Linked DNA regions of Homo sapiens: all the other regions are linked to region 1. The links are contacts of gene promoters, found by promoter capture Hi-C in blood cells and fetal thymus (Javierre and others, 2016). All regions are on one chromosome and are shown on one strand. The core of a region is centred on a gene start or on the middle of the fragment in contact, and the rest is flanking DNA. Distances in the headings are between cores, read along the strand shown.

Region 1 (2,531 bases), core at 15-2,514:
GGAAATGTACTGACTTTAAAAAATTGGCCAACAGTGTTTCTGTATGACAAAGGCAACAAGCTTATTTGATATGAAATAGTTGCATTAGCTCCTTGGGGGCTCCAGTGGCCTTCCTTTTATTCACTGATAATATTAGCAGCTTCATTAGGCATTTATCTTAAATTTGCATGCACTTCCCGGGTGGGAGGACTTTCCTCTGTATATGGTGGTGAGTAATGGAGTTCTACCTGAAATCATCCATTACCTCAGTTGGAGAAACATGTCTCTAGGAGGGAAAAAAATTCAAGACTTTCTTTTACATTTGGTTGGAGTAGTTTTCAAACTTAGTAAGCCTAAGAATCACCCGAGGCTCTGGGTAAAATGCACGTTTCTGGTCTTGTCCAGGTGTAGAGATCAGGAGTCTGCATTGTAAAATAGTGCCCCAGATGACGTCAATACAAGTAGTTTTCAGACCTTAATTTCGGAAGCATGTGAAAAAGCATTCTTTATTACTGTATTCACTCATTCTTCAGTAATTGTCGAGCACCTTCCAGAGTGCTCTGTTAGACCCTGGTGGGAGGCAGAGGGTTTGCGTGGAGACTTAAGATTCAGTTTTCATGTCTCAAGGCATCAAATGAGATGTACTAGAGTTAAAAGGCAAAAAGGACGCTGTTTGTATCAAGCGCATTAACCCCTTTTAGCGTTTCTCTTACAATGGGATCACCTTCGTCATACGCTCCCAGTTGCTACTCATTACCTTAATAACACTAATAAAGCACCACCACCTCGAAGCTGGGGCGAATAGGCCCAAGAGACGGCCTACTTCTGTGGTGACCCTGAACTGCTCCAGAGGACCCAGCTCTCTCAAGCCAAGTGGTTTCCACACTTTGCTGCACAGTGGAGGCACTTGTAGAATAAAGAAAATAGGCCGACCCTCCAGGTTTGGAAGCCACTGGGCTAGCGGCCTCGCCAAGGCCCTGAAGCGCCCACGTCTTTGCGCCCTCTATCCTCAGCCCCGAAGGTGCGCGCGGAGGCCTCCCGCCCCGGCGGGCCTGGTCCTGGCGCCTGGTCCACCCCGCCCCACCGCTACCCGCCGTGCCCGGCTCCGGCTCCGGCTCAGGTGCGGGCCGCCGGCCGGGAGGAGCTGGTGCCGGAGCTTCTCAGGCCAGGGCGCTGCAGAACCGAAAGCAGCAGGGGGCGGGGGAGAGGAAAGAGGGGGCGGGAGCGGGGACGCGAGGGCGAGGCGGCCACGCGGGGCCGGGAATGCCCGCGGTGCGGGGCCCCAGAGCCGCCCGGTGGTCGTGTCCGGGCGATGGCTCTTCGCCTGGTCGCCGACTTCGACCTCGGGAAGGACGTGCTCCCGTGGTTGCGGGCGCAGCGGGCAGTGTCGGAGGCCAGCGGGGCCGGAAGCGGCGGCGCAGGTGCGGGAGGCGCGCTGCGGAGAGGGGTGGGGGCGGGGAGTGGGAGTCCCTCATACCCCCCGGACTCCGACCCGGTGGGGAGCAACCCGGGGCGTCGCCGCCCTGAGAAGGCTGGTGCGAGGGCGTCGCTCCCCTCCTCAGAGGGCTGTTTTGGCTTTGCCACCCACACCCAGCCACGGCGGAAGGTCTGGGGGCAGAGCCCGGGCCAGGTCGCCGTGGGGCCTGAGGCGCCTGGCTCGCTGCCGGCCCGCGGAAATTCGCCCTTGGCAGAGGGGCCGGGCCGCTGGCGGTTCCCTCAGCATCACCTCACGGCGAGGGCAGAGGGTCGTGCTCAGCTCAGCGGCCGCATCCCACCTCCCGGGGGGTTCATCGGCAGCGCAGGGGCTTTGCCAAGACAGGAGTGCTCCTGGAAGCTTCACGTTTTGAGAAAGAATCCGTGACCACCAAGCAAACCACCCTATACCTAACGGTGGAACAGTTTGTCCCCACATTTGCGAGACGTGTTTATGTGTCTGTTGAACCGTGTCCGTGGCTCAGGGGACATGGGCCTCGGCGGTGAGGCGCAAGAGGGCAGGGGCCGCCTCCAGGCTGCGCGCGGCGGGGCGAGAGCCCCCAGCCGCCCCCGAGCTCCGCACCTGTGCAGGCTGGGGCTGCGCGCGAGATGCTCGGCTCCCGGCCCTGCCACTCCGGGCTTTTTGATGATTTGGTAAGGGAGTGAAAGTGACTTTTGAGCCTTCCCAGCACTGATCTGTTTTAAAGAAGGGGAACTTTGTGATTTCTTACAAAGTTTTAAAAGTCTTCTATAAATATTGGAGCTTCAGAGCTTAAATGCAGCTTCAAAGCAATGATGCCTGTAGGTCTCACCTTGTGTGTAGGGCGCTGTCCACTTCAGTGAATTTGGAAGTGGGTATTAAATGACCCACATCTACAACTCCTTTCCCTTAAACGCTGGTGAAAGTTTTCTTGATGTGAGTTATATATCAAGTTGCTATCTTGTATCTTCACACTCTCCTATGACTATAGCGAAATTATTTGTAGGTTTCCTTGGCTTGGAATATTATTAGCTCCAAATAAGGAGTTATATGTTTGTGTAGCGTATGCATTGAGTTTGCATTAGTGTCATGCTTAGTA
Region 2 (2,531 bases), core at 15-2,514, 220 kb after region 1:
ATTATTTGGGTAATCTTCATTCTGAGACAAACTTAATCTATATCATTTACTTTGCAACAGAACAACCCTACAGCATTTTGGTTCCCAGACTAAGGGAACTAATATCTATATAATTAAACTTGTTCATTTATCATTCATGAAATATAAAATACTTGTCATTTAAACCGTTTAAAAATGTGGTAGCATAATGTCACCCCAAAAAGCATTCAGAAAGCAATGTAACTGTGAAGACCAGGGTTTAAAGGTAATTCATTTATAGTTTATAACTCCTTAGATGTTTGATGTTGAAAACTGCTTTAACATGAAAATTATCTTCCTCTGCTCTGTGTGAACAATAGCTTTTAATTTAAGATTGCTCACTACTGTACTAGACTACTGGTAGGTTTTTTTGGGGGGGGTGGGTAGGGATATGTGGGTAATGAAGCATTTACTTACAGGCTATCATACTCTGAGGCCAATTTTATCTCCAAAGCAATAATATCATTAAGTGATTCACTTCATAGAAGGCTAAGTTTCTCTAGGACAGATAGAAAACATGAATTTTGAAATATATAGAACAGTAGTTAAAATACTATATATTTCAACCCTGGCTGGTAGATTGCTTATTTTACTATCAGAAACTAAAAGATAGATTTTTACCCAAACAGAAGTATCTGTAATTTTTATAATTCATCAATTCTGGAATGCTATATATAATATTTAAAAGACTTTTTAAATGTGTTTAATTTCATCATCGTAAAAAGGGATCATCTCAGAGAGAACAGCAGTATTCTGCGTATTTTTAAAAATGCTCTAGAGTAACATTTGAAGTAATTCACTGTAGTGTATGCCAGTCCTAGAAATAATTTTTTTAATTTCTGGTGTCTGTTTCTAATACACTAACCAAGTTTTCAAAATATATTTACAAAGATGCATCTTTACCCATTATTTTAAAATGATTAAGGAGGATAGTTGCTTCAGGTAACAAGCTAATTTTTCAAATATTAGGCCCTTACAGAACTATTTAGTCAAAAAGTAAGATATTCCTTTAAAATATATAACCCAAAGCTTTCAGTTAAACATGATATATCACAAATACTATTAAAATGTTAAAGAGAAATGCAAATAGCATTAAATGATGACCAAAATGTAAAATATTGTAGATTTCAAAAGCTGTGTCTCTATTAGGTGGGATACCAAATGTAAATGATGTAACTGACGTTGTTTTTTACTTTTTACTTTTTAAAAAAGACTAAAAACGTTTTGATATTATACAATGTATTTGTTTCAGATAAGGTCATTGTCATTTAGTATATATAATTAATATATGTACAAGTTTAAGTAAATTCCTGTGAGTAAAAATGGACTTATCACAAAACATAGTTCTAAAGAAAGGTATATGCTCATATACACGGTGTCCATTAATTTAATGGGAACTAGGTATAACTTCAGGAGAATTTGGCAAATAATTCATTAATCCATGTAAATATTCAAAAGCTTGTTCTATCCACATTATTTCAAGGGATCACTTTATTTTTCATTATACTTTCACAGCACTTTTCTAGTAAATTCTGTAACACAGAAATTCCATTTTGGAATCATTTCATGTTACCAATAATTCTAGACTTTTATAACATTTAACATGTTGATGGAAATAGATTACATCTGCTAGAACCTTTTGCCTTAACTATTCACCAATATATGCTAATATTCATAAATATGGATTGACTGTTTACAAACATTAGAATCTTGTCTTGGTTCCATTTTGATGGCTAATATTTGTTATCTTAATTAAGACTATTTCTGAGGTCATGATTACTTGAAAATATTGACTAAAACTGGGTCCTTAGAAATTCCAGGTGGAGCTGATTTACCTATGACTGAGGGGAAAAAAAAATCAAATTTTACTGATAATAGTAATGCTCCAAATGAATTAATGACACATCTGTTCAATAAATAAAGAGCTTAAATATACAAAACATAAGAAATCTGGGCAACAAAACTTGTGGTCTTTACTTTTGAATAGCTACCCAAGAAAAGGTTTTAAAGGTAAAAGTTATGAGTAATGTCATCACAATAAGCTCTTGTTTAAAATTCTTTTCTTTTATGTATAATTAGGTTTATGTTTCATGTCTTTTTAAAACCTTATAAAAGATTTAATTATCACATCTATTCTTCAATGTGGAAATATTAAATATTGTTGGTTGTAAAATAATATTTATGTACTTACTTGTGTCTGAAAAGTTGTAAAATGCTTACCTCAGCTATACAATATCTGTGACTCTGAAGACTTTAATGAGTACTATTTCATTAACAAGAAGTCAGAGGCAAATAGAGGAACACCATTATCTTACTTCCCTCTAGAATACTGTTGAAACATTTGAAATACAAAAGTTTCAGTTTCATTTTGTGGCATTCAACTTCCTCTCCTCTTTTTCCGTTATTAGTGTTGCTGCTCTGGTTAGCCCTCTTCATCTCCTTAGGACAACACAAACGCATCTGAATAGTCTGTACCTCTGGTTTCAGTCTATTCCAGTCCAACTTTCATCCCT
Region 3 (2,531 bases), core at 19-2,518, 220 kb before region 1:
AAAAGGACTTACTTCAGACTTTTTTTGTTCAGATCGTTCCTGACTTTGAAGTTCACTCCATTCCGATCTTACAGGTGTATCTGAGAAAAATGAAATCTTATTGTTATTAACACCTTGAATTTCTGAAATTTCTTTGCATTAAAGTAATACAAAAAACAGATCCTAAAGATTTTAGAAACTATCGCTTCCACAAAAATTTTGTAGTTTCTGGGTAAGCATATTTCTGAAGTTTCTAAAAAAAAAAAATTGTAGTTTCTATTAATTCGAGAACATTCTGTTTCCTTCCTTCAAAACCTAAGTAAATAAATTCAGTCATCAGTGTATTACAGTCTATAGATAATGTGACAGACAAGTGAAGTATACTGCTTAATCTACAGACAACGTGACAGACTTAGACAACTGAAGTATACCGTTTCATTGCTTTCAACATTCTTTTTAATTGTTGTTGAGACAGGGTCTCACTCTGTTGACCAGGCGCGATCTCGGCTCACTGGAGCCTCAACCTCCCAGGCTCAGGCAATCTTCCCATCTCAGCTTCTTGAGTAGCTGGGACTATAGGTGCATGCCACCTCGCCTGGCTAATTTTTGATTTTATACAGACAGGGTTTTGCCATGTTGCCCAGGCTGGTCTCAAACTCCTAGGGCAAATGGAACAGAGATCCACCTGCCTTGGTCTCCCAAAGTGCTGGGATCACAGGCATAAGCCATTGTGCTTGGCTCTTTAACATTTATCTTAAAATCAGTCAAAATTCACTTTGGGAGGCTGAGGCAGGCAGATCACTTGAGGTCAGGAGTTCAAGACCAGCCTGGCCAACATGGTGAGACCCTATCTCTAATAAAAAAATTAGTTGGGAGTGACGGTGTATGCCTCTAATCGCAGCTACTCAGGAGGCTGAGGCAGGAGAACAGCTTGAGCCCAGATCGTGCCACTGCACTCCAGCCTGAGTGACAGAGTGGAACTCCAACTCGAAATAAAACAAAACAAGGCCGGGCGTGGTGGCTCCCGCCTGTAATCCCAGCACTTTGGGAGGCTGAGGCGGGCGATCACGAGGTCAGGAGATGGAGACCATCCTGGCTAACATGGTGAAACCCTGTCTCTACTAAAAAAATACAAAAAAATTAGCCGGGCGTGGTGGCTCATGCCTGTAATCCCAGCACTTTGAGAGGCTGAGGTGGGCGGATCATGAGGTCAGGAGATGGACCATCCTGGCTAACACGGTGAAACCCTGTCTCTACTAAAAAAAATACAAAAAAATAAGCCGGGTGTGGTGGCAGGCACCTGTAGTCCCAGCTACATGGGAGGCTGAGGCAGGAGAATGGCATGAACCCAAGAGGTGGAGCTTGCAGTGAGCCGAGATCGTGCCACTGCACTCCAGCCGGGGCGACAGAATGAGACTCCATCTCAAAAAAATGAATAAATAAAAAATAAATAAATAAAAAGAAAACCAAATGAAACAAAACAAAAATCAGTCAAAATTAATATATTGGTAAAATGTACTTAGACAAGTGAGCACCTCCACTGAGCATGAGACACTGTAAATACAATCAAGCTGTTTCTGCACTCTTTTTTAGAGGATTAATAGGGAGAAGTATATTATCAATGTTTTAAAGTATCATCACTTTCTCCCAGTTCTGATACTCCAGTGGTCTTTTTTTTTTCTTCCACAGACGGGGTCTCACTGTTACCAAACTGGAGTACAGTGGTGCGATCATGGCTCACTGCAGCCTCCAACTACAGGGATCAAGCAATCCTTCTTCTTCAGCCTCCTGAGTAGCAAGGACTACAGGCACATGCCACCACACCTGGCTAATTTTTTGTTGTTATTATTATTTTTTGAGACAAAGTTTTTTGCTCTTGTTGCCCAGGCTGGAATGCAATGGCGTGGTCTCAGCTCGCTGCAACCTCTGCATCCTGGGTTCAAGCAATTCTCCTGCCTCAGCCTCCCAAGCAGCTGGGATTACAGGCGCCCACCACCACAACTGGACAGTTATTTTATTTTTAGAAGAGAGGAGGTATCACTGTGTTGCCCAGGCTGGTCTCAAACTCTTAGGCTCAAGCAATCCTCGCGCCTTGGACTCCCAAAGTGCTGCGATTACAGGTATGAGCCAATGTGCTCAGTCTACTCCAGTGGTGTTAAATGTCTTTCAGTTAACACCAATCCAGTGACGCCCACCCAACAGAAATGTTTACTGACCTAAATCTAAGGAAAGCAATTAATGTTTTCATAAATAAGTGCTACTTTTTTTTTTTTTGAGATGGAGTCTTGCTCTGTTGCCCAGGCTGGAGTGCAGTGGCATGGTCTCGGCTCACTCCAACCTCTGCCTCCGGGGTTCAAGCGATTCTCCTGCCTCAGCCTCCCGAGCAGCTGGGACTACTGGTGCATGCCACCACACACAGCTAATTTTTTGTATTTCTAGTAGAGACAGGGTTTCAGTGTGTTAGCCAGGATGGTCTTGATGTCCTGACCTCGTGATCTGCCCGCCTTGGTCTCCCAAAGTGGCAGGATTACAGGCATGAGTCAATAAGTGCT
Region 4 (2,531 bases), core at 14-2,513, 170 kb before region 1:
ACACAAACATGATGTATTAACTATTCAATTTTATTAGAGATTACAGAAAGTGTAGTCAAATAATTTCTCCTCTTACCTTCCTATTTTAAACAGGTATAGAAAAAGAATGATAAATTTTCATCAGTTTCTAATATCAAGCACCTCATCATTTTAGAAAATCAGTTAAGTGAATGAAAAGCCTAACTTTATGGAAAATAGAATGATTCAGGTATTAAGAAATGATGCAATTTGTATCAAGGCCCAATAAAATCAAAGTCTCTAAGTGACCATCTAGCTTAAATAAACCTTTTAAGCAGTGGGAAATGCATTGGTTAATGAATTCCTAATTAAATCTTCACAGTTCCAAATACAGTAAATGGAGTTATTACCTATAGGCTGAATGAACTATAAGTTGACAGTAATGCTCACAGAGAAACAAAGTAGAACTGTCTGGTATGTTGGGTTAGCTAACATTTTAGAGGCTTAAAAACACAGGTAACTTCCAAATCTCATTTTCCAAGAGATGTTTACAGAAAATGATTAAATTAAATTCTCTCTTTTTTTAGATAGGGTCTCACTTTGTCACCCAGGCTGGAGTGTGCAGTGGTGCAATCACGGCTCACTGCAGCCTCTACCTTCTGGGCTCAAGTGATCTTCCCACCTCAGCCTCCTGAGTAGCTGGGACCACAGGCGTGTGCCACCACAACCGGCTAATTTTTTTTTTTTTTAATAGATGGAGGCCGGGCGTGGTGGCTCATGCCTATAATCCCAGCACTTTGGAAGGCCAACGTGGGTGGATGACTTAAGGCAAGGAGTTCAAGACCAGACTGGCCAACATGGCAAAACCTTGTCTCTACTCAAAAATACAAAAAAATTAGCCAGGCATGGTGGCACATGCCTTTAATCCCAGCTACTCAGGAGGCTGAGACATGAGAATCGTTTGAACCTGGGAGATGCAGGTTGCAAAGAGCTGAGATTGTGCCACTGCACTCAAGCCTGGGCGACAGAGCGAGACTGTCTCTCCCCACAAAAAAAAAAAAAAGATTTAAAAAAAATAGAGATGGGGTCTTGCCATGTTGCCAAAGCTGGTCTCAAACTCCTGGGCTCAAGCAATTCTCCCACCCTAGCCTCCCAAGTAGCTGGGATTACAGGTGTGAGCCACTATACTTACACTTGGACCTTAAATTATTTTTGAGAGTTTAAAAAACATTTTTTTAATCTTTTACCTGACAAAACTTTAATACTTTGAAACAGATAGAAAACAAGTTGTAAGAGATTAATTTAGTTAAGAATAGAAAGCGGTGTGACTAACAATGCCCCTCATTCAGATGAGCAGTAATAAGATTATATTGGTACTTATATTCCTGGTATAAAACTAATAATGATATCAAAAACTATGTGTTAAATATCATACATACATAATCTCTAACACTGCAAGGTGGGTATTATTTCCTTTCAAATGTGAGGAAACTGAAGCTCAGAGTGAACTGTACTGCACCATGGTCAAAATGCTTGTAAAAGGTAGGTTTGTCTGATTTAATTATCTATGCTTTTTCCACCAGGTCACATTCAAAGTCAAGATCAAAGTCAAGGTTATCAGATAATTTCATAGTTCCTAACTTGCTCATAATCTATTACTAATAAGACACAGTGAATCACAAAAACCTTTCGCTTCAAAAAATTATGTACTCAATGCTACTTGATTTTTCATCAATAACTTGATACATACTATGAGCTTACTAATATAATGAAAAGAGAAATACATCCTAAACCTTAACAGTAACTTAAAACATTAGGAGAATGACATTTAAATTCTCTTAGACAATTGATTAATAATATTAATGTATATATTGACAACCCTTAAATAGATAACTTGATTACTTAATAATTTCTCAGTTTTTATATTTTCTCATTTTATTCACTTTCTGTCCAACATTACTTAATACTGACATAGGAAATAGTTGGGAGTAATGGAATAAATTAAGGCTTCCCAATTATTTATGTAATATAACTGAAAGATGTATCTTTTGCAATATATTGCTTACTGAAAAAATTAACATATTTACAAACTAAAGATAATTTTAAATATATTAACTACATTAGTATTAAAAAACTTCAAATAAAATCACTATGTAATTTGTAAGTTTGATTTGTATGCCATATTTATAGAAGACCACACTTTATAAGTTTTATTTAAATATGAATTATCTGTAAATATATCATTACCTCCTACAGTGAGGACAGAATATGATGCTGTAGGATACCAGAATAGCTTTGAAATAAATTTTACTTCGACATAGCATAAAAATACCAATGTTAGAAAATCAGGGTAAGAAATTATCTTCTCTCAGTTTTGAAGATAGGAAACAAACAAAACATACTGTGGTATTAACAAACAGACTAATCAAGATATTCAGGCCTGGTGCGGTGGATTACATGGGATTATATGCCTGTAATCCCAGCACTTTGGGAGACAAAGGCGGTCGGATCACCTGAGGTCAGGAGTTCGAGACCAGCCTGGCCAACACAGTGAAACCCCATCTCTACTAAAA
Region 5 (2,531 bases), core at 16-2,515, 160 kb after region 1:
TTGCATTCCTGAGGTATAACGAATGCTAGAGCCAGAGGAAACTTGACAGAGATCCAGATGTGATAGGGACATGGATACATAAGAGACTGAATGGATATTTCAGGTGAAGGGCAGATTTAGACCAGGAGCCAAGTCTAAGTGGTTATTAGGTATGGGTATTTGAGGACAATTATTTTCACTTTTGTTTCCACTACAAGCTATTAAAATTGTGGCATGAACTCATAAGCAGTCCAGGTGGGCACACCTTGTCTACACTTCTATCCTGTCATTGGCTAAGTTTATAAGGATCTGCCTTTGGCCCTTGTGACAGACACATTGGCATTGTTTGCTGCACCATTTTCCCTTCCTGGACACACAGGGGGACTATATTTCACAGTCTCCCTTGCATTTGGATTGGAGCCATTGGACTAATTTGCCCAAGGAAGGTGAGTGGAAGTAAGTAACAAATGTCTTCCCCAGCCATGTTGAACTTGGAAGGCACGTGCTCCCGCTGGCAAAGCTAAGGACAGACGTGGCTGCATGACTTGCACTGGACTGTGCTATGAGTGAGAAACAAAATTCCATTGAGTTCTTCTGCTGAGATTTTAAGATTTGTTCTTATTGCATAGTCTAGCTGAAGCCTAACTTCTCCTTTTCTTATTCTGTATACCGTTTCCACAGTGCCAGTTACAGTGATGCGTTAAACATCCTTATTTCCAGTTCAGAATTTCCCTGGAGCTCCAAATTTTTATGTTTAATTTCTTACTGGGCAATTCCAGTTGTGTATATCAAAGGCCCATCAAATTAAAACTCATTATCTTCCCATCTGAAACCTACTGTTTTTCTATTCCTTCTTTTGGTAATGGCATTTCAATTCACTTAATTTTCAAAATTATAAACATGAGCGTCATTCTTGAAGCCCGTTTCTTGCTTCTTTCAAGATTTTTTCTTCATTTTTAATTTTCAAGTTTTACTGTGATGCATTTGGAACATATTTCTTTGAGTTTACCCTGTTTGGGGCTCATTGAGCTTTTTGAATCTGTGGACTTTTCTTTCACCAAACATGGGGAGTTTTCAGCCATTACTTCTTCCAATTTTTTTCATAATCATATACCTTCTCTTCTCTTACTGCAACTCCAGTGACATAAATTAGATATTTTGTTATTGTCTCATGGATGCCTATAGATCTGTTTTTGTTTGTTTGTTTTTGAGATGGAGTCTCGCTCTGTTCCCTAGGCTGGAGTGCAGTGGCATGATCTCGGCTCACTGCAACCTCTACCTTGTGGGTTCCAGCAATTCTCCTGCCTCAGCCTCCTGGATAGCTGGGACCATAGGCACGTGCCACCACGTCCAGCTAATATTTGTATTTTCAGTAAAGACGGGGTTTCACCATGTTAGCCAGCCTCGTTTTGAACTCCTGACCTCAGGTGATCTGCCTGCCTCGGCCTCCCAAAGTGCTGGGATTACAGGCGTGAGCCACTGCGCCCGGCCATGGATCTGTTCATTTTTATTCAAAATTTTTTTCTCTCTGTTCAGATTGGACAATTTTTATCTTCAAATTTACTGACATCTGTGTGAGAGAAAGAGCACAAGAGCGAGCGAGCAAAAGAGACTTTTTAATTCTCTTGAGAATCACAGCTCCAAAGGTTCCCTTCCCCCAGAATTTTGGCTCCTGTGGGCTCCCATTACATATGACCTCTGCTACTGAGACCTAATCACAACACTGTAGAATGCTCCCCTCCCTCCACACCTTACCACCATGTTCCTGAAGTCCTATTTAAAGCAATTCCTTTTACCCAGTACATCGTGTCTGGCTATCAAGAAAAAAACTGCAAGGCACACTGAAAGGCAAAAAACACAATCTGAAGAGACAGAGCAACCATCAGAACCAGATATGGCAGGGATGTGTGAATTATCAGGAATTTAAAACAACTATGACTAATAGGCTAAGAACGCTAACAGATAAACTCAATCCCGAAATGGGCAGTTTAAGTAGAGAGAAGGAAATTCTAAGAAATAATAAAAAAGAAATACTCAGCCAGGCATGGTGGTTCATGCCTGTAATCCCAGCACTTTGGGAGGCTGAGGCGGGCAGATAACTTGAGGTCAGGAGTTCAAGACCAGCCTGGCCAATATGGTGAAATCCCATCTCTACAAAAAATACAAAAATTAGCTGGGCGTATTGGCGGCCACTTGTAATCCCAGCTACTCAGGAAGCTGAGGCAGGAGATTATCTTGAACCTGGGAGGCAGAGGTTGCAGTGAGCCGAGATTGTGCCACTGTACTCCAGCCTGGACAGAGTGAGACTATGTCTCAAAAACAAACAACCAAACACACACACACACACACACACACACACACACACACACACACACACACACACAAATACCAGAGATCAAAATCACTGTATCAGAAATGAAGAATGCCTCTAATAGGCTTACTAACAGAACGAACTTGGCTGAGGAAGGAATCTCTGAGCTTGAGGATATCTTACTAGACACTACCCAAACTGGAAAAAAAAAAAAAAAAGACTAGGAAAATACCAGAATATC

The links. Contacts are between HindIII fragments. The CHiCAGO score rates a contact against its expected background, and 5 or more counts as called.
Region 2: a fragment that was not itself captured here is called in contact with the fragment with the promoter of GSAP in region 1 in 4 of 17 cell types (total CD8 T cells, M0 macrophages, activated CD4 T cells and 1 more); the score reaches 5.7 in total CD8 T cells.
Region 3: a contact is called between a fragment that was not itself captured here and the fragment with the promoter of GSAP in region 1, in 15 of 17 cell types (M1 macrophages, M2 macrophages, M0 macrophages and 12 more). The highest score is 22.1, in M1 macrophages.
Region 4: a fragment that was not itself captured here is called in contact with the fragment with the promoter of GSAP in region 1 in 11 of 17 cell types (monocytes, M0 macrophages, M2 macrophages and 8 more); the score reaches 15.6 in monocytes.
Region 5: a contact is called between a fragment that was not itself captured here and the fragment with the promoter of GSAP in region 1, in 1 of 17 cell types (total CD8 T cells). The highest score is 5.1, in total CD8 T cells.

What each region holds. Positions count from the first base shown.
Region 1 is chr7:77,415,082-77,417,612 of GRCh38, reverse strand. It overlaps GSAP (gamma-secretase activating protein), which reads left to right and starts at 1,264. Exons shown (of 31, transcript NM_017439.4): 1 at 1,264-1,400. The coding sequence starts at 1,292. It overlaps LOC101927243 (a long non-coding RNA gene), which reads right to left and starts at 2,415. Exons shown (of 5, transcript NR_110073.1): 1 at 2,265-2,415. RefSeq lists silencers at 969-1,318, 1,539-1,748, 1,809-2,098. The HindIII fragment of the contact is 1,753 bases long and covers 63-1,815 here.
Region 2 is chr7:77,193,034-77,195,564 of GRCh38, reverse strand. All of the region lies in intron 2 of CCDC146 (coiled-coil domain containing 146), which reads right to left. FGL2 (fibrinogen like 2) reads left to right here. Exons shown (of 2, transcript NM_006682.3): 2 at 1-2,196. Among named protein-coding and RNA genes, the nearest start is that of FGL2, 5.5 kb to the left of the region's middle. The HindIII fragment of the contact is 429 bases long and covers 1,050-1,478 here.
Region 3 is chr7:77,633,331-77,635,861 of GRCh38, reverse strand. It overlaps PTPN12 (protein tyrosine phosphatase non-receptor type 12), which reads right to left. Exons shown (of 18, transcript NM_002835.4): 15 at 13-80. Among named protein-coding and RNA genes, the nearest start is that of APTR, 62 kb to the left of the region's middle. The HindIII fragment of the contact is 5,173 bases long and covers 1-2,531 here.
Region 4 is chr7:77,589,050-77,591,580 of GRCh38, reverse strand. The region is part of intron 5 of PTPN12 (protein tyrosine phosphatase non-receptor type 12); the gene reads right to left. Among named protein-coding and RNA genes, the nearest start is that of PTPN12, 53 kb to the right of the region's middle. The HindIII fragment of the contact is 4,209 bases long and covers 1-2,531 here.
Region 5 is chr7:77,250,806-77,253,336 of GRCh38, reverse strand. All of the region lies in intron 4 of CCDC146 (coiled-coil domain containing 146), which reads right to left. LOC102723791 (a long non-coding RNA gene) reads left to right here. Exons shown (of 6, transcript XR_927688.3): 6 at 460-534. Among named protein-coding and RNA genes, the nearest start is that of CCDC146-AS1, 3.4 kb to the right of the region's middle. The HindIII fragment of the contact is 3,661 bases long and covers 1-2,531 here.